6 separate regions of the Homo sapiens genome follow, and regions 2, 3, 4, 5 and 6 are each linked to region 1. The links are contacts of gene promoters, found by promoter capture Hi-C in blood cells and fetal thymus (Javierre and others, 2016). All regions are on one chromosome and are shown on one strand. Each heading gives the region's core, a stretch centred on a gene start or on the middle of the fragment in contact. The rest is flanking DNA. Distances are from core to core; before and after follow the strand shown. Region 1 holds the start of CCDC138 (coiled-coil domain containing 138). Region 2 holds the start of SOWAHC (sosondowah ankyrin repeat domain family member C). Region 3 has its middle 100 kb from the start of SEPTIN10. Region 4 overlaps SEPTIN10 (septin 10). Region 5 has its middle 88 kb from the start of SEPTIN10. Region 6 overlaps SH3RF3 (SH3 domain containing ring finger 3).

What was found. Contacts are between HindIII fragments. The CHiCAGO score rates a contact against its expected background, and 5 or more counts as called.
Region 2: the fragment with the promoter of SOWAHC here is called in contact with the fragment with the promoter of CCDC138 in region 1 in 3 of 17 cell types (fetal thymus, total CD4 T cells and naive CD4 T cells); the score reaches 8.0 in fetal thymus.
Region 3: a contact is called between a fragment that was not itself captured here and the fragment with the promoter of CCDC138 in region 1, in 5 of 17 cell types (total CD4 T cells, naive CD8 T cells, non-activated CD4 T cells and 2 more). The highest score is 13.8, in total CD4 T cells.
Region 4: a contact is called between a fragment that was not itself captured here and the fragment with the promoter of CCDC138 in region 1, in 1 of 17 cell types (activated CD4 T cells). The highest score is 5.6, in activated CD4 T cells.
Region 5: a fragment that was not itself captured here is called in contact with the fragment with the promoter of CCDC138 in region 1 in 2 of 17 cell types (total CD4 T cells and non-activated CD4 T cells); the score reaches 6.9 in total CD4 T cells.
Region 6: a fragment that was not itself captured here is called in contact with the fragment with the promoter of CCDC138 in region 1 in 1 of 17 cell types (naive CD8 T cells); the score reaches 5.3 in naive CD8 T cells.

Annotation. Positions count from the first base shown.
Region 1 is chr2:108,785,239-108,788,723 of GRCh38, reverse strand. It overlaps CCDC138 (coiled-coil domain containing 138), which reads right to left and starts at 1,953. Exons shown (of 15, transcript NM_144978.3): 1 at 1,809-1,953; 2 at 635-692. The coding sequence starts at 1,901. It overlaps RANBP2 (RAN binding protein 2), which reads right to left. Exons shown (of 29, transcript NM_006267.5): 29 at 2,915-3,485. RefSeq lists a silencer at 1,555-2,144. The HindIII fragment of the contact is 5,748 bases long and covers 1-2,609 here.
Region 2 is chr2:109,613,054-109,616,440 of GRCh38, reverse strand. It overlaps SOWAHC (sosondowah ankyrin repeat domain family member C), which reads right to left and starts at 2,077. Exons shown (of 1, transcript NM_023016.4): 1 at 1-2,077. The coding sequence starts at 1,951. The coding sequence ends at 374. It overlaps SEPTIN10 (septin 10), which reads left to right and starts at 2,475. Exons shown (of 11, transcript NM_144710.5): 1 at 2,475-2,643. The coding sequence starts at 2,614. It also overlaps a transcript of RANBP2 not described here. RefSeq lists silencers at 2,024-2,193, 2,454-2,703, 2,734-2,823 and an enhancer at 2,676-3,387. The HindIII fragment of the contact is 4,568 bases long and covers 1-3,387 here.
Region 3 is chr2:109,507,271-109,511,109 of GRCh38, reverse strand. It overlaps a transcript of RANBP2 not described here. Among named protein-coding and RNA genes, the nearest start is that of SEPTIN10, 100 kb to the left of the region's middle. RefSeq lists an enhancer at 3,508-3,617. The HindIII fragment of the contact is 5,398 bases long and covers 1-3,839 here.
Region 4 is chr2:109,545,475-109,548,878 of GRCh38, reverse strand. SEPTIN10 (septin 10) reads left to right here. Exons shown (of 11, transcript NM_144710.5): 10 at 2,642-2,829. It also overlaps a transcript of RANBP2 not described here. Among named protein-coding and RNA genes, the nearest start is that of SEPTIN10, 67 kb to the left of the region's middle. The HindIII fragment of the contact is 925 bases long and covers 1,149-2,073 here.
Region 5 is chr2:109,523,958-109,527,570 of GRCh38, reverse strand. It overlaps a transcript of RANBP2 not described here. Among named protein-coding and RNA genes, the nearest start is that of SEPTIN10, 88 kb to the left of the region's middle. The HindIII fragment of the contact is 6,274 bases long and covers 1-3,613 here.
Region 6 is chr2:109,348,164-109,351,699 of GRCh38, reverse strand. All of the region lies in intron 2 of SH3RF3 (SH3 domain containing ring finger 3), which reads right to left. It also overlaps a transcript of RANBP2 not described here. Among named protein-coding and RNA genes, the nearest start is that of MIR4266, 36 kb to the right of the region's middle. RefSeq lists an enhancer at 2,589-2,658. The HindIII fragment of the contact is 5,961 bases long and covers 1-3,536 here.

The DNA of each region.
Region 1 (3,485 bases), core at 704-3,203:
CTTTGAGACGGAGTCTCGCTCTGTCACCCAGGCTGGAGTGCAGTGGCGCAATCTCGGCTCACTGCAAGCTCCGTCTCCCGGGTTCACCCCATTCTCCTGCCTCAGCCTCCTGAGTAGCCGGGACTACAGGAGCCCGCCACCACACCCGGCTAATTTTTTGTATTTTTTTTAGTAGAGACGGGGTTTCACCGTGTTAGCTAGGATGGTCTCCATCTCCTGACCTCGTGATCCGCCCGCCTCGCCTCCCAAAGTGCTGGGATTACAGGCGTGAGCCACCGCGCGCAGCCTATTTTTTTCTTTTTTGAGACTGAGTTTCGCTCTTGTTGCCCAGGCTGGAGTGTAGTGGCGCCATCTCGGCTCACTGCAACCTCTGCCTCCCGGGTTCAACCGATTCTCCTGCCTCAGCCTTCCCAGCAGTTGGGATTACAGGCGCCCGCCACCATGCTCGGCTAATTTTTTGTATCTTTAGTAGAGACGGGATTTCACTATGTTGGCCTGAGTGGTCTCGAACTCCTGACCTCAGGTGATTCGCCTGCCTCGGCCTCCCAAAGTGCTGGGATTACAGGCGTGAGCCACCGCGCCCAGCCTCAAATTAAATTTTTGAAACCCCCAAATATACAAAATACCGGCTTACCTGGGGAGGTTAGAGTTCTTCTCTTATACTTAGACTGATAAAAATTTGAAAAATCATACTAAAAAAAAAAAGAAAAGATTTAATTTGTATACTAAAAATCAATTTACTGTCTCAAAATATTTCCCCACAAATTATGTATTAATTACAAAGGTTAGAGTGGAGAAATCTTGTAGACACCATCTTAACCAAGTGATCAAAACTAATATCATCAATAATGTGACAAACCAACGTCATGTTCCTCCCCACAGCAGGCCACACATCACTCATCTCATGCTCCTGCCAAAAATGCATAATCAATCTAACGAAGAAGCATCTATAAGATAAACCCAAACGGAGAAACAATCCAATAAATAATTCTTACACTTCTCAAAAAAAAAACAACCTTACAGAAAACAAAGGCTGTGAACCTGTTCCAGATTAAAGGCAACAAAAAGGACAATCAAATACAATCAATGCTCGTTCTTGGGTCGGATCTGCACTAGGAAAAAATTTTCCTATAAAAGGTTTTATCGAGATAATTGCTGAAATTTCTTATGAACTCTAGATTACCAAATATTATACCAATTCTAAATTTCCTGAAAATATTACTGTGGTTATTAAAAGACAACGTCCTTATGCTTAGGAAAAATGCACAAGTTATTTCTATTCAGAGGTAAAGGGGCATGATGCCTGCAAATCACCCTCAAATAGTTCAAAGGGAAAAAATGCGTTTGTAGGGAGGGAAGGGGAGAGAACGAATGGTAAAGCCAATGTGGCAAAATATTAATTTGTGAATGCAAGTGAGGGTACAAGGGAATTCTTGGTAATACTGCAGCAACTTTTGAGTAAGTCCGAAATTATTTCGAAATAAGCCGCTTTTAAAAAGCAATTCAATTGTTTTCACAACTCCACTCACATCACTGCAAAAAAAAGCTGAATAGCACTTTCTCCAACACCACACCATGCCCAGTATACCAGGAACACAGAGGCATAGGTGAAGCGGCACCCCCGCACCCCCGCAGCGCAACGCCCGCCCCTCCCGCCTGCTTCCACGAGGCCCAAGCCGCAGCCACGGCGGGAGTGCCGGGGCCGGGACCAGAGCCGCTGCGCGCCCCCAGGCCGGCTGCGCGGGGCACGGAGCGGGCCGCCCCCCAGCAGCAGGAGCCCACCCGCGGACCTCAGGCGGCGGCTTCACCTCGTCGGGGCAGCTGCCCCCGAGTCCGTAGCGGCTTTTGAGACTCTCCACTACTAAATCCTGCCCCGGTGGCTTGACGACCCTCGGCTCCATAGCACACAGCAACCGTACCAGTCTCCCCGGGAACCGCGTTCATCAAACCCGCGGCGCTACGCGGCCGCAGTGCGTCACGACGTGCCAGACCCCGCCCCCCCGAGGCACGCACGGCGGCAGGGAAAGGGCGGGGCGGGGCGACCCGGAGACTGCAGCCCGGCTTGTCAGCGCGTCCTCCAAGTTTCTCGTGCTAGCACTACACACCTCGTAACTGAGTAGTATTGCATCTCCCCGCGATAGTCCTGCCCCGGCTGCCTGGGTGCCACGGGTTGAGGGGCACCGAGGCCCCGCACCTGCCTGCAGCGCTCCGCTCCAGCTCCATTTAACCTGTTAAGTTTGGTGTGCGTTGCGCTCACCACATAGACCGGTCGTTCCATCAGAAGTGACCTTTGCTAACTGCCATATAAAAGAAAAACCAAGAGTATATCTGAGCCGGGAGTGGTGGCGCGCGTGTAGTCCCGGCTGCTAAGGAGGCTGAGGCGGGAGCATTGCTTTGAGCCTGAGAGTTACATCTATCTTGGGTAACATAGCAAGACTCCCATCTCTTAAAGTTAAAAAAAAAAAAAAAAAGGGAAAGCTGAGCATAGACATTGCAGATTACCTCACTTTCCCTGTGTTCCATATGGGGTATAACAGGGTATTAAAAAGAATAGTTAGAATGTAAGCACCCTGGAAAAAAAACTTTTTTTTTTTGAAAAGAAAAAAGCTTTTGCCAATACCTACAACAGTGCTAACCATAGTACATAGTATACATCAACCTGAAAACCTATGTTAAACAAAACTGACTGAGGGGAACTGTACAACCACTTCATTTTTCTCATTCATAAAATTACAGTGGTGTAATCTTTTACTTTCTAAATTGTGACTGTCAGCTGCATCTCTGGACTAACAACTCCTAAATTCTCTGGATTAAAGTTCCCAAATGCCCAAGTTTTATAAAATCTGTACTTCAGCAGTTATTATCTGAAAATTACTTAGGCCATACTTTTTGCCATAAAGTACCACTTAAGATGTACAAATAATGAATTTTATTCTATCTTTAAGCAGATTTTAATGAGACAACATAAAATCCAGTTTAAAAGGAAAGATACATATTATCGTGGGTTTAGACCACATCAGTGATTAAATAACAAAGAGAAATCAAAGTCCTTTCCTGAAATGTGACACAAAGACTTTCTCATAAATGCCACAAGCCACTTTTAAGCATCTTTGGAATACTAATACGGGAAAAGTCAGTTTACATGTCATTTTGTCAAATTTTTGGTCAAAGTTTTTAAAGCTTTTTAATTTGTAACTTTAGTGCTTTAGGAAAGCATACAAATCTGTAAAAAGTCTCTTAAAAAGCACTTGCATTAACTTAAGAATTTATTCTAAAATCATGACGAAGGCATCAACTGTCTCAGCTGAAAAGTTACAACACACTTTACATCAGTTTATATTACATAGATTTCCAAATAAGCCAATTTGAAATATTTAGTGTAAACATATGTAATCCATGGTTCAAGACTGAACTGATACATTTGGAGTAGGTTTATTTCAAGTATCTGGCTTTGTGGCCGAGTGGAATGGTGATGGTATACCATC
Region 2 (3,387 bases), core at 828-3,327, 830 kb before region 1:
ATCAGATACATAAAAACTGCATTATTCCTTACTTTGCAGGCATCCAGGAATGGTTAAAGCAAAGGAACTCTCATTCATTAATTCATTCATTCTGTTCCCCCAATTTAGATACATTTCTAGTCTCCAGAAACGGACTCCAGGGCAGGGAAGTGGAGGGCAGAGAAGAGGTACAGGTCAAGGTATGATGAATCTCTGAAAAAGACATCCACTTTTCCCAGAAGGCTAGCCTGAAGAGAACTCCGCCCCATCCATTCCGATCCCTCAAGTAAGAATGCATAATTTAGCTTGTCCTTCTGGTCTCACTTCCTTACAACACCTAGTATTCAATTTATTAAGACAAATAAACCTTTGCATTTTCTAAAAGAAGCAATTTTTACCCAAATACATTGGACTTTGGTCTCAATGTGAAGGGCGAGTGGCCTTTAACAGGTCGTTCCTCCCCCACTCCCTCCTCCCCCCTGCCCTCCAGCGGCTGCTCTGGGTCCCTGAAAGAGGGTGTGGTGTGGACGATCTGGGTTCTGAATCGGATTTTGTTGAGTCTGGGTTTTATACGTCCACTAGAGCTGCCCGAGGCTTTGCGCCCTGGATCCTTGGCTTTGCCTCCGACCCACCCCTCAGCCGAGTGGTGATGGTGGTGATGGTCCCCTCCATCTTCTAGGGCGTGTGAGAGTTTGTAGGTGATGAGATGCGAGGGAAGCACCTTTGAAAGCCTCCAGCGCCCGCCGCCGCTACCCGCGGCGCTTTCCCCGTCACCCTCGTCCAGGGCTCCCACCAGGTTCTTGATCTCCTCGGCGATGCTCCGACTCAGGTACTGGGAGGCCTTTTTCCCACTGTAGTCCCTGATGTCCACATCGGCGTCGTAGGCCCCCACCAGCAGCTTCACCACCTCCACGTGGCCGTGCATGGCTGCCAAGTGCAGGGCGGTGTAACCCCCGCTCGTCCTGGCGTCGATGTTCACCGGCAGCTGGTGTTTGTTGGCGAAGTTGACTAGCATGGCCAGAAGCTCCTGCCTGCCGTGCTTGGCGGCCCAGTGCAGGCAAGTGAAGCCGGTAATGAAGTCCCGCTTGACCAGCAGGCCGGGCTCGCAGGTGAGCAAGCCCTCCAGGCTGTCCCACTTGCCATCGGAGGCAGAGAGCATCCACGCGTGCTCCAGGGGGTCCAGCGTCACGGAGCCTCCGCCGCTGCTCTCCTCCTCCGCGGACGACGAGGCCACCGATGCGCTGTCTGAGTCGCCCCCGCCTCTGCCGCGTCCTCCCCCGGAGGAGCTGCCCGGGCTGCTGCCCCCGGGACACACGCTCCTCTTCAGCTGCGGGGAGCTGCCCATCACCAGGTCACGGAGGTTCTGGCGGGCCGGCCTCTGTGCGGTAGCCCCCACAAGGGAGCTGCCCCTGTCCGCCTCCTCGCAGCCATGTGGCGGGAGCTCCAGGTCCTCGCTGGGCCCCGGGGCTGGAGTCCGCGGTAGGGGCTGCACGTCGCGCCGCGAGTTCTTCCTGCGAGCCCCGGCGCTCAGGGGCGGCCAGTGCGCGGGGGCGGGGGGCTCTCCCTCGCCCAGCTCGCGGCCCTGTCCAGGGAGCGACTCCGGGGCCGCCGCGTCGGGGAGCCGATCGCGCGCCTCGGGCCCGGCAGGGCCGTCGGGGGCCTCGGGCTCGGCGGTCACCTGGATTCGCGGCGGGTCCCCGGAGGGCTCGGACGGCCCTTCACAGAACCTCTTCTTGAGGTGCACGTACTTGGCGCCGTCGGCGGGATCGACGCGCACAGTGGCCACGGCGTTCACCAGCTCCTTGAAGTGCGCGCGGGCGCGGGCGCGCTGCTCCGGTTCGCCGCCTAGGGCGCCCCTGAAGTGCTGCACCAGCTCGGCGTGCAGGGCCCGGCCCCCGCGCTCCGCCAGGAAGCGCAGCACCGCCTCGGGGCCCAGCGCCGCCTCGGGGCCCCACTCTGCCGGCCCCTCCATCCTCGACCGCGCTGCTCCCCCGCCAGCGGGCGGCTCAGCGCGGTCCCATAGCGACGGGCTCCCAGCGGCCGGCTCCCGACGGCGGCGGAGTCTGGCGGGCTCAGCGGGCTGCCAGCCTACGCGTCTGAGGCCAGAGGACTCGGCCACCGCCTCACTGGGCCGCGCCCGGGCGGACACGCCCCCCGCACCCCCGCCCCGCGCCCACGCCACCAGGCCACGCCCACTTCCGCTCCCCGCTGTCTCGGCCACACCTACCTAGGGCGGCCTCGCCTCAAGGCCCGCCCACTTCCGGCCTCGCGAGGGCCGCAATCACTGCTCCGCAGTTCCCGCCTGCATTCCTCGCGCCGTCTTCCTGGAGTCCCAGCTCTCCTTCAGCCCGCCCCAACGCTGACGCTCAGTCCTCAGGCGTCGAGGGTAGCTCCTGTGAGGGGCTCGCTTGGCGCAGGCAAAACGCTCAGCGCGCACCACAGGGCGTCCGCCCCAACCCCGCCCCCGGAGGCCTCCAGCTCGGCCCCGCCCCTGTCCCTTCCCCGTCGCGGAGGCAGCCTAGCCTCGCGCCCCGCCCGTTGCTTCTGCCCTCCGGCCTTCCCGCCGCCGTCGCCGGGACCAGCCGCTCGGGGCCGGGCTGATACAGCCGCTTCACCGTGCCCCTGCCCGCGACCATGGCCTCCTCCGAGGTGGCGCGGCACCTGGTGAGTCCCGCCGACGCCGGGGCCCCAGCCCCGCGCTCCCCGGCCCCCGCGGGACTTCCCGCCCTCGACCCACCGGCCCCCTGGTCCGGCCCGGGATTGTGACCCGCGCCCCCTCCGGCCCCGCCCGCCCAGTGCTCCCCGGCTTCCGCGGCGGCCGGGCGCCTGGGGCGGGAGAGGAGCCTCTGCGGAGCCTGGGCGCGGCCGGACCCCGGTTCGCGGGGCGCGGCGCCAGCGTCGGGACGGTGGGAGAGTTCTTGAACGACTTCCCGGTCTTTGCCAAAAGTTACATCCACAGCGGTGTTTGTGGGTCTCTTACGGCTATAACGGAGTTGAAGGCGCAGTGCGGACTGATTGAATAGCGGTCATCTTTTGCAGCCGTGAGCACTTCCGAGCCTCCCTGCCGCCGGGAGAAAGCCCGGCTCCCCTGGCTTTTCAAAAGCTCTCCCGTTTTATCCGATGGTGTGGTCGTCCAAGTTTTCCTCCATTGGGATTTTAAACCGTTTTTTTCCCGCCTTGACTCTTTTGTACTCTAAAAGAACGCGTTTGTTCACTGTTTTGAACCTTTCCAGTTACTTTTGTAGATTTATCTCGCTTGTTAGTAAGCCAGCGGTTTTCCAAGTGTGGTTACAACTATTTTCGTTAATAGTACCAAGGTCGTGTACATCGAGTTTTCCAAAGGCTACATGGTATGGAGTGATCTCACCGCCGTTTGGAGGCCCGATGCCTGTGTATTCTTAAAAACAA
Region 3 (3,839 bases), core at 490-2,989, 720 kb before region 1:
CCTTCCTGAGGCGAGTTGGTTAACTGCTCTCTGCCTCAGTTTCCCCATCTGTGAAATTGCATGGTCATAATTCCTACTTCATAAGCCTGATGTGAGGACAAAAACGAGGCAATGGATGTAGAGTGCTAAGCATGGGGCGGGCGCAGAGGGTGGGCTTAGTACATGCTTAACACGCACTTGCCATCTTCAGCACCCACGAGGAGGCCAGGGGCTCCTGGAAGGGCCCACTCCCCATAGCTCCGGCCACCCGTCCCACCTTTGCTCTCTGCCGCTTCCCCTGCAGGAAAGCCTCTCTTGCTTTTGTTGCAGTCACCCAGCATGGGCCCCACTCTGCTCACCCTGGCTTTAGCTGGAGGAGGCCAGCTCCTGGTCAGACGGGGCCCTTCCCCAGCCCAGGCTGGGCAGGGAGGAGGGGTCACCCCATGGCACACACAAGTGGCTGTTTTGTTGGGAAGGGGCTGTGGGTGCTCAGAGCCCCTGGTCCCGGCTAGGAACAGAAATGAAGCCCTGGACCCCATCAGCCCTCTGGGCTGCAGAGGGTGAGGATGGAACCGGGGTTCCTTCAGTCTGGTAGTCACTGCACAAATGTGAGAAGAGCTACCTCGGGGTTTCCCTCTAGGACATGTGGAAGGCTTCCCCTCGGCCTCCACATCGGACTGACTTGTCAAAGGACCCTCGGGGCTGTCTGCTCCCCCACATGCCCTCACCGCCCCCTTGGCAGAGACGCCTTGCCCTTTGCCCAGCATCTGCTGTGCCAGCTTCCCACATTCATACGAGCCATTCCCTGTGCCACCAACAGAGGGAGCTCCCGACACAGTTTGCATCTAAACACCCCTTGAGAGCCCAGGAAACACTGCCTCCTGCTTCTGGCCTGGAAGGCTCAGAGACCTACCCCTGGCCATTCTCACCTCAGCCCTCTCCTCCACACCTGCTCTGGGCTCCCTCAGTTTCTTGATCCTGCCAAGCTCTCCCCAGCCTCGGGTTGGGGTGTGCACACACACCGTTCCCGCCAACCGAACATTCTTTCCCCTCTTCCTGCCTTGTGAATTTCTAAACAAGACTACAGTGTGGAGGTCCAGATAAGACCCGGACACCCTCTAAGTGGCCCTCCATGCCCCTCACCTCTCCAACTAGATAAGAGTTTCCTGCGATCCCTTAGTACTTTGCCCTATAGTATTTGCCCGGTAGCTATCGCCTAGTTATTTTGATTAATTTAACTTTTGACTTCATTATGACCTGGTCTCCATGAGCACAGGCACATGGGCTGAATTATGTTCCCCGAAAATTCATATGTTGAAGTCCTAGCCCCCAGTGCCTCAGCGTGTGTCTCTGCTTGGAGATTAAATTAAAATGAGTCCATTGGTGGGCCTAATCTGGCCTGACTGGTGTCCTTGTGAGAAGGGTGAGGGTGCAGGGGGTGGAGGATGAGAAATTGCTTAAAGGGGACATGTCATGTATGTTATTCGGGTGATGGATACACTAAAACTCCTGACTTGACCACTATGGCATGTAACAAAATTGCACCCCATAAATTTACACAAATTCATTTTAAAAAGAAGAGGAACACTGGATACAGACGCACAGAGATGAATCCGGGCAAGACGACCCGCCACAGCTGCTTGACAGAGTGAGGAGACGGCGGTGTGCAAGCCGAGGAGAGAGGTCTCAGAGGAAACCAACCCTGCTGCAACTTCAACCTTGGACTTCCAGCCTCCAGCACTTTGAGAGAATATATTTCTGTTGTTTCAGCCACGCAGTGCATGGTATTTTGATATGGCAGCCTAAGTGACTGATACAGGCACGTGGGTTTGCACACTTCTTTCCATAGCACCAAACACCGCATAATCTGACAGGCGGCTGGGCCCCACCAGGCAGACCTCCAGGAAGGCCTGAATACATGAGGTGGGTCCTCTTGCCTGGATTCATCTCCGTGACCCTGGTGCTGGGCCCAGAGCAGAAGTAGCTGTTGAATGAATGAGTAGAGTGGGAAGGGGTGGAGAGAAGATGCCCAGACCCAGGCAAGTCCTGTGTGACCCTGACGGATGGGCACTTCCTTCCATTTCTCCCGGCAGGAATGGGTAAGCTGGTTGTGAGCTCCTTGACTCATGTGCTGGTGTTGTGTATTCTTGCCAAGAACGTCCAGAGGAAGCGCTCTGGGACCCATCATGGAGTGGACTGCATCCCCCCGTCCCGGGCTTGTAGCGCCTTTGCTCCTCAGGCACAGACTGCCGAGTCCATGACTACCCACACGGCTTGCCTTCCTCTCCAGATGTGAACTCTGGCTGGGGTGGGCAGCTGTGTCTCTCCTTTCATGCCTTATCTGGGGTGCCCTGTCTGAGCACTTACATTCATCTGTGACTGCTCACTGATCTGATAAGTGAGTGGGTGAAGCCAGGCCATCGAGGGGTGTGGTGAGTGGGTGTCCCATGTGACACTTCCTGGCTGTCTCCAGGCTTTCATCTGCTTCCATTTTTTTTTTTTGGAACATTACAGAACGTTACTTTTTCCAAATAAAGAGTTCTTTCTTCACATTTGTAATGATGTCCACGTCTGTTGACGTTTCCTCTGGGACTTCTTTTAGATCCAGTTTTTATATCTCATTTTCCTAAATATGGTATGGTGGCCCTCGGAAGACGCGTGCTTTTGCACAGTGCCATGGGGTTCCAGGGCAATGTCCTGGAGGAGCGGCCCTGGGGAGTGTGCGTCTGCAGTTTTTGTCTGCCCGGTCATGAGCTCCTTTTGTTTTTGCCAATAGCTCTACGTGTATCTTCTCACCCCCACTCTCAATCCATGAAGTCTGGGCAGGGCTGACACCTCAGGCGCTATCAATCAGTATATACATGTCCCCTGTCCAAAATGGCTGAGTCAGGGAGGGCAGCACGGGCCCAAACGGAGCCAGTGAGAGTCAATGCCAGGGTTTTGGCTGGGCCCATGGAGAAGGAGCAGGCCTATTTTTGCAGGGATGGGGAAGGTGTCAGATGGCACCCTGAACCTGCTGGTCCTCATTGTGCTGTAAGATGGGGAAATCTGCTGAGGAAGGAGCCACGTGGAGGGCAGCAGAGCCCAGCAATACCCACAAACGTCATGTGAGCACCTGGACCCAGCTATGCCTGAAGCAAACTCATCTACACCAGCGTTTCTTAGTGAACCCACCACTCTTGGCATTTGGGACAGGACAGGCTTTGCCCACGTGGGACGATTGTACACATTGCAAGATATCCCACATCCCTAGGTCCAGCAGAATGCCAAGTGTCCTCATGGAACACCAGCCCCATCATTTGCACACGTCTGATTGTCTGCCCTCAGCTTTTCAGTTGAGTCAAGAAGTCCTCTTTTGACTTATTCCAGTTGGTTTTTGGGGCAGGTTCAAATGATGGGCCCTGGACAAACAGCTGCTGCCATTTTCTTGGGTGTCTGGGATTTAACCCTTACCATGTTAAACACCAGCTGACCCTGGTGTGGCTTTAGGGCCGAGCCCAGGATTTTCACTGAGGGAGGGGTCAAGTTCTGGAGCCACAGGCTGGGTAGCACAGGCTCCTATCACTGTGGGAAGATGGAGACCACTGCTTCTGGTGCTGGAGGAGAGCACAGAGAGGACAGTCAGCAGAACTCAGCCAGCCTCAGATGCTGGGACCACAGGCGGAACAGAAGCAGGGCTCCAACAGCTCACAGGCCCCAGATGTTTCCCTTGTGGTCAGCTGAATGTGATCTTCTTTGAGAAGTGAAGGGAACCCCCTGGAAGGGTGACATGAAACAGAAGGGAGAAGAGAACTCCGACAGACTGCTCAGCCCTAGAAGGTCCTGACCGATTCCAAGACGGTCCCTGGTCTGTGAGGCCC
Region 4 (3,404 bases), core at 362-2,861, 760 kb before region 1:
TAGACCAGAGTTTAGCTCTCTGGTTTCTTCTCTCAGTCTCTGATTTTCAGTGAAATATTTCCTCAAATATTATGTCTTTTTTTTTTTTTTTTTTTTTTTTTTTGAGATGGAGCCTAACTCTGTGGCCCAAGCTGGAGTGCAATGGCGCTATCTCGGCTCACTGCAACCTCGGCCTCCCGGCTTCAGGCAATTCTCCTGTCTCAGCCTCCCGAGTAGCTGGGACTACAGGCGCACACTGCCACACCTGGTTAATTTTTTGTATTTTAGTAGAGACGGGGTTTCCCCGTGTTGCCCAGGCTGGTCTTGAACTCCTGAGCTCAGGCAATCCACCCACCTCGGCCTCCCAAACGTCTCCCCCTTTCTAGACAACTTGGTGTCTTAGAAAAAGATAACATAGCCAGGCGCTGTGGCTCATGCGTGTAAACCTCCGTGAGCCAATGAGCCTGTAAACCTCAATGAGCCATCACGCCCAGCTATGTCGTCTTTTTCTAGACACCAAGTCCTGCTTTGTTTGCATGAATGCCAGGTTTCTACCCAGAACTAAAATGTTAATGTCAGATTTACCTAACCAGATCAGAGGACCAAAAATAAGGTTATCTTTTAAAATGTAGATTCTAGACACTGTGGTTGTGTTGTTAGAGGGCACAGCACACAGCTGATTCCTATGGAGCTGGCTTAAGACCCTAGTTTTTTTTTTTTTTGAGGTAAGCCACAATTAAACCAGGTCCACCTACATTCTCCTTGGACCTTGTCTCTCTGAACTGCATGCAGAACTTCACATAACTTTCATCTGTATTTCCTCTCATTACTAGTTCTTCTACATCTTTTAGAATTCTTTTATGAGCAGTATTGTGTGCTGTGCTGGGGGTATAAAAATGAAAAAGACATAGCTCCTAAGTAATCCTCAGGGAGACGTTGCTCCCACAGTTACCCCAGCACATGTGTGCTAAGGGTTTCTCTTTTGCACCTGTAACAGAGCACAGGACACAGAAAGAACTACCCAGGGTGGCAGCTGGAGCAAGCTGAGTTTCCTATTTTTTGTTATTAACAATGGCTAATATTTATCGAGTGCTTACTCAGTGCCAGCCATCATGGTAAAAACGTTAGATAGATGTTTTCTTTTGGTATATCCCAGTTGTTTTAAAGCTTCCTTTTTATTTGTAAGTTTCCAGAGTTTTATGCCCTTCATAGCTTTGAGAAATATGCCTTCTATGATCCATATAGGGCATTCCTTAAATTGTGGAACAAAATAAATTAAAAGGCCTGCCCCAAAATTGACATCTAAGGTGACATTGCTCCCTTTATATGGTTTATCAAGATGATTTTCAGCCCCAAGGAGGTGAAAAACTGCTGAATTGTATTCTTTAAATAATTTTTTCTTCTGCTTTTTTCACTTAAGAGAAATCTCTTGAAACTCATTTAACAGTTGTATACGGGAAGAATAACCCCTATAGGTTCTTATTGGAATGACCCCTTATTTTCAGATTAACCAAAAAAAAAAAAAAAAAACAAGTTTATTAGCATGTATATTTCACATATACAGGGGTGATACAGTCAATGAGTAGTTCTCAAAGAGGCGACTGCATTCTACCTTCTATAGCATCTTCAACAAAGAACAGTTAATTTTTACAGAAATGACAAGACAAAGGAAAAGGACTTGGAGTCTCTAGAGGCAGCAACTTGGAGGAAGGCACATAGCTGGCAGATGAAGGCTAGTCAGTAAAGCTAGTTAATGTAGAGCTGTCTGGTACCAGTCTCCAGGCCCAAAAGGGTCTGAAGTTGTCTTTGGTGGTTAACCTTTGTTCTCCCTGGTTGGGGAAGGGGGCTGGATACCTTTTTTCTTTGTACATCTGTATCCTGCCTTTAGGCGCCTAAAGGGAGGTCAGAGAGCTTTCCTGTATCTGCTGCTTCTTAGTTGCCCTCAGCTCAACAGTCCTGCACATTCTGCTCTCCTACAGCTGCATCAAATGTATTTAGCATTAATTTATTCTTTATCTTTATTGGCTATGTAGGCAATGTTTTTCCTATTATAGTGTAAATTCTACTATGATGAGTATTTTTATATGTAAAGCTTTCTCTGAATTTAGGATTTTTTTAAGCCTAGATCTCAGGACATTGAAAGACTATGGAAAAATAGAATACAGTTTTAACATTCTTGACATAGTTGACAATTGACACTTGCTTTCCAGTGATGTTTACTAGTACAGTTTTCAATAACTGTTTACTGCATATATTTTATTTGGAAAATAGTGTTGTTGTTTTTTTCCTTTCTGGTAATTTCTTTCTATACTTTGCATCTCTTATTTTTATTGAGCATGGACTTGAGAGACTTTAAGAAGTTTTGTAGGGAAAATACACACCGAGAAAATAAAAACTCTAGGAAAAGTTCACAATGTTTTAAAAATAGTTTTGTACATAAAGCTATGATTTTTGCATGGGAACTCATTTAAATTAAAGTTACCAAGGGAATTCCATATGTAAACTTTTCCTTGAACTATGAACTTCTGAGACTTCAGAAAGATTTTGACTGTGTAGGTTATTCTGTGTTGCGCTATGGGGTCCGCCTTTGTGTTGCTGAGCTGGAGAGCGTGCCTCTGCTGCCGCGCTGTGTCAGTAGTGGGGATTGCACTTTTGTTTCCAGCTACAGGCCAAATTTGAGCACCTTAAGAGACTTCACCAAGAAGAGAGAATGAAGCTTGAAGAAAAGAGAAGACTTTTGGAAGAAGAAATAATTGCTTTCTCTAAAAAGAAAGCTACCTCCGAGATATTTCACAGCCAGTCCTTTCTGGCAACAGGCAGCAACCTGAGGAAGGACAAGGACCGTAAGAAGTAAGAGGCCCAGCCACCCTCCCTGGCAGCCCTGCCCACACTTGTCACATTGCCCTGTCGGATCTTCCTAGCGCTTCTTACTTCTGCTTCCTTATGCTTTGTCTTCCTTCTCCAACTAAATGTCAGCTCCTGGAGAGGAGAGACCTTGTCCCTCTTGTTCACTGCTGTTTCCCCAGCATCCAGAACAGCACCTGGCACATGTTATGTGTTCAGTATTTGCCAAAATGAATGAATGAACAAAATAAAAATACATCACAGTGTGAAAAGGATCAGTTAGCTGGGGGAAAATGGCTGCTCTTATTGAATAGCCCAGCCGTGGCCCTAGTACACAGCTAATGGCTGCTGACCTACCATGAGTTATTTTGAATTTCATGTCTAAATAAAGCTGTGCCCTTTGTTGGGGAATTATAGACATAAGATAGTATTTTATTGAATTAATTCTTAGGTTCAGTTTTTTAGAACAAATTCTACTGATACTGATTTTGTGAGAATTTTTATTTTAATAAGGGAACCAGGCTGTCGATTCGAACTCCTGTGCATTGATGTCAGAGCTTGTGAAACCAATGGTGGACGTA
Region 5 (3,613 bases), core at 445-2,944, 740 kb before region 1:
ATGTGGCTGTGGGTCCAGTGACATCCGTTCTCATGCCCAGGGTCCCACAGGGCCTGCGTTATTCCTCTTGGGGGTCTTCCAGTCCATGGTGGCTCCCCAGTCTCTGGAGTTTAGGATCTGTGAGACACATCTCAGGTGTGGGGAAATGCCTCCAGCACGTCTGTTTCTTATGTTACTCAAACTCCTTTCCCGCTGCAGGGGAAGGACACAAACACCATCCTTGTCCTAACATACCATGTTCTGCCTGTGTCAGCTTCCTAGGCAAGCAACTGGTTTTCCAGAGATGGGCTGCCTGGGGCCCAGGCCTCTCTGCTTAGTCTCCAGGACCAGCACAGTGAAGGCGTGCGGCAGCTGATGGATGCACTTTGGCTGAGCTGGGTTCAGGCACACACATCTGCTTCGTGTGGGTTTGTGTGAGGTGTTGCACATGTAAACATTTGTAGGTATGTGTATTTGTGCACGTGTGTGTGTGTAGGGTCATCTGGTAGCTATTGTAAAAATCCATTATTTCTATAAGCTAAATTAAGACATTTAATTGGTCAAGCACAATTTGTCAAGTGTGAGCTTTATGGCAAGCACTATCCTCATTAGACACTACACCAAGTCCTTGTGCATACCCAGCCCCCACGCAGGCAGGCTCGAGCCTCGTGCTAGAGTCGAACATGTGCTGGCTGAGGCAGACACATCTCTGAGAACACATTTGTAGGCCATCAGAGAGGGTCTCCTAGAGAGGAAGCAGCCCACCAGAGGGTTGAATAGGAATTCACCAGGCTGAGGTGGTCCCAGGCAAGGGTGGAGAGAGGGTGCATCTGGGGACCCAAGAGCCGGGGAGAATATCAATTGCAGCTGTCATCGGTGAGCCCCCTGTGCCAGAGTGCATGGCAGACACATCCGTGCACTTCCTCCCACCCTTGGGCCTCCAGAAAGTCTGCTTTCTGGTGTCATTCAAAGAGGAGGTGAGCCGGGCGTGGTGGCTCACACCTGTAATCCGAGCACTTTGGGAGACCAAGGCAGGTGGATCACTTGAGGTCAGGAGTTCGACACCAGCCTGGCTAACATGGCAAAACCCTGCCTCTACTAAAAATACAAAAATAAATAAGGCATGGTGGCACATGCCTGTAGTCCCAGCTAACTACTTGGAAGGCTGAGGCACGAGAATTGCTTGAACCCCAGAGGTGGAGGTTGCAGCGAGCTGAGATCAGACCACTGCACTCCAGCTTGGGCGACAGAATGAGACTCCATCTCAAAAAAATAAAAAATAAAAAGGAGGTGAGAGTGGCTCAGAGAGGCTGGTGCCTTGCCCAGGGCCACAGGCAACAGCAGGCAGCCCTGGGCTTAAACCCAAGAAAGGAAGCCTGTGCCTCGAATTTGAGGTCTCAGAGGGTGGCAGATGAGCTTTCCTGAGAGACAAAAGAGGGAAATAGCATCTGTGAAAAGACATAAGGAACTTAGTCTGGTGCTTACTGTGCCCTGATTCCTGGTCACCTGTGGGCGTGTGTCAGGGGCCCTGATGGTGACTGGTTGTGGTGGCTCTGGTGCTCGGGATTGCGAGCAGCTCCAGAACCTGGGTGACACCACCTCCCCACTCACTGGGCCACAGTGGGCTGCAGAGACTGTTAATGCTGAGGCTTCTGAGCTGGGAAAATTAGCAATAGCAGCACAAAGAAAATTACCCTCCATCTGCTTCCAATGACAATGGTAGGACCAGAGAGATCCCAAAACCTGAACAGAGGAGGAAACTCGGAGCCACATCCAGGACAGGCCTCCAGCAGGTAGGAAGTGCAAGTAGGAAACGCATCAATGATTTAGGGAGGAGGCTGCTTTTGCTAGTAAGGACAGTGGCCAGAGGGCCACTGAGAGCCTCCTCTCTGGCATCTTACAACAAATGGGCACCGAGCAGGTTGTCCTGAGCTACCCTGATGGTGACCAAGTTGTTGTCCAGGAATGTTTCCATCCTGCCCTGAATGCCGGGTGCTGGACCTCCTCATGGCTGCAGTGCCCTGGGGTTCACGTCACCAGCCCACCACTTTGTGGTTGGCGTCAGCTCGGGGAGTGTAGGCCTGTGGGGCTCCGGCTGGTGAGGGTGCAGGTAACTAGCACTTTCAGCCCTCAGGCATGGTGGCTCATGCCTGTAATCCCAGCACTTTGGGAGGCCAAGGTGGGCAGATCATTTGAGGTCAGGAGTTCGAGACCAGCCTGGCCAAGATGGTGAAAACCTGTCTCTATTTCTTGTAAAAATTCAAAAAAAATTAGCTGGGCGTGGTGGCACATGCCTGTAGTCCCAGCTACTCAGGAGGCTGAGGCAGAAGAATCTCTCGAACCCGGGAGGCAGAGGTTGCAGTGAGCCAAGACCGCGTCACTGCACTCCAGCCTGGGTGACAGAGTGAGACTCTGTCTCAAAAACCAAACAAAAAACAAAAACAAAAACAAAAATGATGTCAAGGGATATTTGCTGAAGCCTCATCCATAACCACAAAAAAAAAAAAAAAAACAACGGTAAGGAGCCTAAATGCCCACCATGGGAAAGTGTTGAACTAGTCTGTGATGTGGGGACAGCAGGCAGCTGCAGAAGCACTGAGTGAAGATGCAGAGGACGGATGAATCCTGACCCTGCTGAAAGGAACATAACTGAAGATCTGCGCCGAGGAGGAACCCAGGGCTTGGGAATTCCATGTGCCATTTGTTTCCTTCTTGATTCTTTTCCCTTCTTTTCTATATATTCTATAATTAGGACTTTCTCATTTAGAAACCCTTAAAAATTTAAAAATGGAAGGCCTTTTTAGATTTTTTAATTTTAATTTTTATTTATTTATTTATATATTTTTTGAGATGGAGTCTTTCTCTGTCACCCAGGATGGAGTGCAGTGGCGCGATCTCAGCTCACTGCAACCTCTGCCTCCCAGGTTCAAGAGATTCTCCTGCCTCAGCTGGAATTACAGGCATGCTCCACCACGCCTGGCTAATTTCTGTATTTTTAGTAGAGACAGGGTTTCACCATGTTGGCCAGGCTGGTCTCGAACTCCTAGCCTCAAGTAATCTGCCTACCTCGGCCTCCCAAAGCGCTGGGATTACAGGCGTGAGCCATCGCGCCCAGTGTTGTTTTGTTTTTTTTTTTTTTTTTTTTTTGAGACAGGGTCCCACTCTGTCACCCTAAGATCCCTAGCAGGAGCTGATATTCACAGAGCGTGTTATGGCTGCTTCACTCCGGCTTTCACACACATGATCTCATTCAAATCCCCATGTCATGAGAAGGTGACAGTGGGCAGCGTGTGACCACTGAGCCGTCCTTACAGTGGATGGAGGTCAGAGAACTGCCCTCTGAGCCCCAGGTCCTCCCTACCAGCTAGAGCCTTTGGACAAGCTGTGTGGCTTCCCTGAGCCTGAGTTTTTATTTGTGCAATGGAGGGAGTGTCCTGCTCTTGCGCCACTAGGCCCTGACCTTATGCATGATGTGCAGAACGGAGGCCCACGGAGTCCCAGTGAGGCTGGGGAGGTGAGACCAGGCAGGTGTGCATGGAACAGCCCCTGCTCCTGTCCCTCGGGGAAGGCAGGAGGTGGCCCAGGACTCTGAAGGATGCAGGTGGGCGGCTGTGATGCAGACAGCTACATGGGG
Region 6 (3,536 bases), core at 962-3,461, 560 kb before region 1:
GTGCAAAAGTGATTCCATGATCAGCGGGCACTCTCTGAGAAAACCCCGTGGCCTCTGAGGATTCCTGAGCATCCCAGCTGGAACTCATGAAAAGCAGCGTGGGCCCTGCATAGCAAATGCAGCTGCCTGGCAAGGCGACCACAATGTTTTCATTAACTGAAAGTTACAGAGAAGAGGTTCAATAAACCCTTGCCGAATCTTGCAGGTGAGCTGAGTAAGACAATATAGAGTTAGCTGCTCAAACAATGGAGTAGTTCACATTCTTCTCCTGCACTCCCAGCCCTAGGCTCCACAATTTATTTATATCATGTGGTTCTCAGCACACCACAGAGTGCACACTGGCATCCTGAGACTGGGAAGGCGAGGTGCTCCTGGCCCAGAAAGGTTATGTGTCACCCTAAGTCACACAGCTGGCATGGGGCCCTCACTGCAAGGCCCTGCCAAGGCCAGCCCCTCCCGGGTGACTGGCCCAGCACGTGTGGAGGCTCCTCAGAAACCAGCTGGCAGAGCTGGGCCCACAGCTCTTCCTGCCTGTCGTCTTTTTATTTGCACATGCCCAGCTTTCTGGAGTCGGGCTACTAAGAAGTAATAAAATATCACTTTTTAAAGCTGCTTTACAAAAACTGATTATTCATTCTCTTCTGAAATAAAGCAGAAACTAGATTTTAGAAGGACTTTAATTAATGCCACTTTAACAGGACTATTCAAAAGCAAACACCAAAGGTAAAAATCTTGCTTTGATCCACCTAATTTAAACTCCATCAGTCTGCCACAGTGATGCTGTATAAAGGCAGGTTATACCATTGTAGCTTTCAGAGACCCTTCTTTCCTCTCTGACTCAGGAATGGAACATATCCAAAGAATAAAAACATTCCCCAGAGGGGAGACCAAGCTGGCATGAACCAGCACCTACGCTGCAGCACTGGAATCATTTGGTTCCTGGAGGTCTGATTCACATGGAGGTTGTCAGAGCCAGTGTGTGCGTCTCAGCTGCATGCCAGGCATGGGGGAAGTAAGGTGGGTCGGACCCACCGTGGGGGAAAACAGGAACTGAGCGGAGAGTCACATGGAGTTGCCCATGTCTCTTGGAGCCTTTATTTGCGGACACTGAGGAGTGAGAGATGCAACAGGACAGAACAGGTAGCAGGGGTGGCCAATCTCTGCCCGACCTCGCCCTTTGGGGGTCAGAGGGTCAAAGTGGGCATAGGAGCATGGCAGGAAGGTCGTGTCACAGCACAAGTCCCTCTGGGGATCACACCCAGAGGCCTCTAATTCTCCACATTAACTCACAGGATTCAAGTAAAGAAAGTCCTTGAACAAAGAATCTGTGATATGACACTTCCCCCTTGTCTGCTGTGGGAGCCGTCACAGATCCTGTAACAGGAGATGCTGGGCCTCCCGTGGCTGGCGCCTCTGACCTCAATTCAACCAAGAGGTCACCTTCCAGAGAGCCTGGGCAGCCATGGTGACATTGCCCACTTGGGAACAGATGGACCCCTGCTCGGCTACCCCCACCCCACATGCCAACCGCAGAATGAGTCTAAGCCTGATGGCTCTAATTTCACTGTTTCTTGTGAAATATGGAACATGGAATTCCATCACTGACTACTCAGGAGCCCACACTAAATGCCCGGCCTGCCCCTGGTGATCCGATGCAGCTCGTGAGCCTCTGGCCTGTCTTCTGCACATTCTCCACTGGCCTGTCTCCCGCACCTGACTCTGGGCTCCAGAAGAGCAGCAGGTCTAGTACCCGACACAGAGTCAGGGCCCGGTATGTTTCTGTGGAATAAATGGGCAGGTGCCCTTTGTCCTCTTGTCCAGTGGGCTCTAGCCTTCAGCCTGGGGTTGCACATCCTGGGCAGAGGCCCGTGGAATGCAGCAGGTTATATGGTGATGACAGGAAAGGCAGGCAGTCACTTCTGCCCAGAGAAGCAGGCCTACCCAGAGGCTCCAGGGCCCTGCGACAGCCCGTTCACAGTGGGTTCTCCCGAGTGGAGAGCCTCCTCCTGTGAGGCCCCTGGAGGAGGGCCTCGGCTCTGCAGCCTGGAGCCCGCCAAGCCTGGAGAAGCCTAGAGCCATTATGGGGTCTGTCTCCTTAGCAAGGCCCTGACCGGACCCTGAGAGTTCAGAGGTCCCTGCTCTTGGTCATGAGTGACCACCTGGGGCACCAGTGGTCCCAGGTCTTCTCTTAGGGGGAAGAGTCCACTGGGCAGAGAAGCAAGTTGGGTTTCTGTGTGCCTAAAAATAGCCCCAGGAAGCTGTTGCTCTCGCCCTCCGACTGAGTGGGGAGGGAGGGAGGCACCAGTGCAGTTTCCCGGGAAGCTGTGCAGCCAGATGACAATCGGAATTAGCATCAGAACACCTTGATAAAAGGAAGGGAGAAGGAGTTGAATCCCTGAATGAAAAATAGATTATTCATTGTCAGGCTGAACAATAGAACAAGACATAAATAGCAGCTGTACGCAGGACATGCCAATTTTGCTCAAAAACACTGTGCATGGTTCTCCTACCGCCCTCCAGAGAGTGCCACCTCGAGCTCTGCACTCAGCAGATGGGGGAGAGAGCAATGGCCTCTCAGAGGCAGGAAGGATGTGGGCTTTAGAAGCAGAGATTCGAGTTAGAATTCTAGTTCTGTTATTTACAACTCTGTGCGTGTGTGTGTGAGAGAGAGAGAGAGAGAAATACTGACACAGAGAGACACAGGCAAGACAGAACGAGTGAGGAGAGAGAAAACAACAACTTCTGGGCATCTAAAATACAGTGAGGCCGACATAAGGGAAGAATTCCCTGTGTAGGGAGGTGGGAAGAATGCTGAGTGTTAACATCAGAGATCTGCATTAGGATTCTGGCTCTGTCATTTACATCTGGGGGCGGCGGGGAGCAGGTGCAGCAGTGGCAGGGGATGGAGGAGACACAAGAGACAGGAGATGAAGATGGAAAGGAGGAAGGGGAAGCAGGAGGGAGAGAGGACCCAGCAAGCAGCCTGGATAAGTTACAAAGCCTCTCAGAGCTTTGGTTTACACATGGAGAAAACGAGGTTCCAACTACTTCCCCTGGAACCTGGGACAGCTGTAAAGACCAAGTGTGAGCTTATTGGCCGAGCACTTGGTGCAGATGATTATTCAACAGCAACTGCCAGGACAGCCAGAACCAGTCTCTTCTGCACCTCACCCAACCCTCCTACTCAATTTCACCTGTCAGTGCTATTTTGTTTGCTCCCAAATGTTTGCTTCACAGGGATCCCTACGCACCAGGGTGGCCCTGCCTCAGGTGCCCTAGAGGACAGGGCTGTGATGCACAGATGTGAGACCCCAGCTATCATCTCCCTGTGAGCTGACCAGGGTCTCTGTAGCAGTTTCCCCTGATGAGCCCCTCTCACAGGACCCCAAGAGTCCTGGAAAGGCGTCATTCTGCTGCACCTGGGTCAGCGCTTAGAGCCATGACTCAGGTTAACTGAGGGTTCTGCTCCTGGTGCTGATGGAGGCTTATATTATCTCAAGCTCCTATGTAGCTCTGGGCTGGAGCTGTGTGTCAAG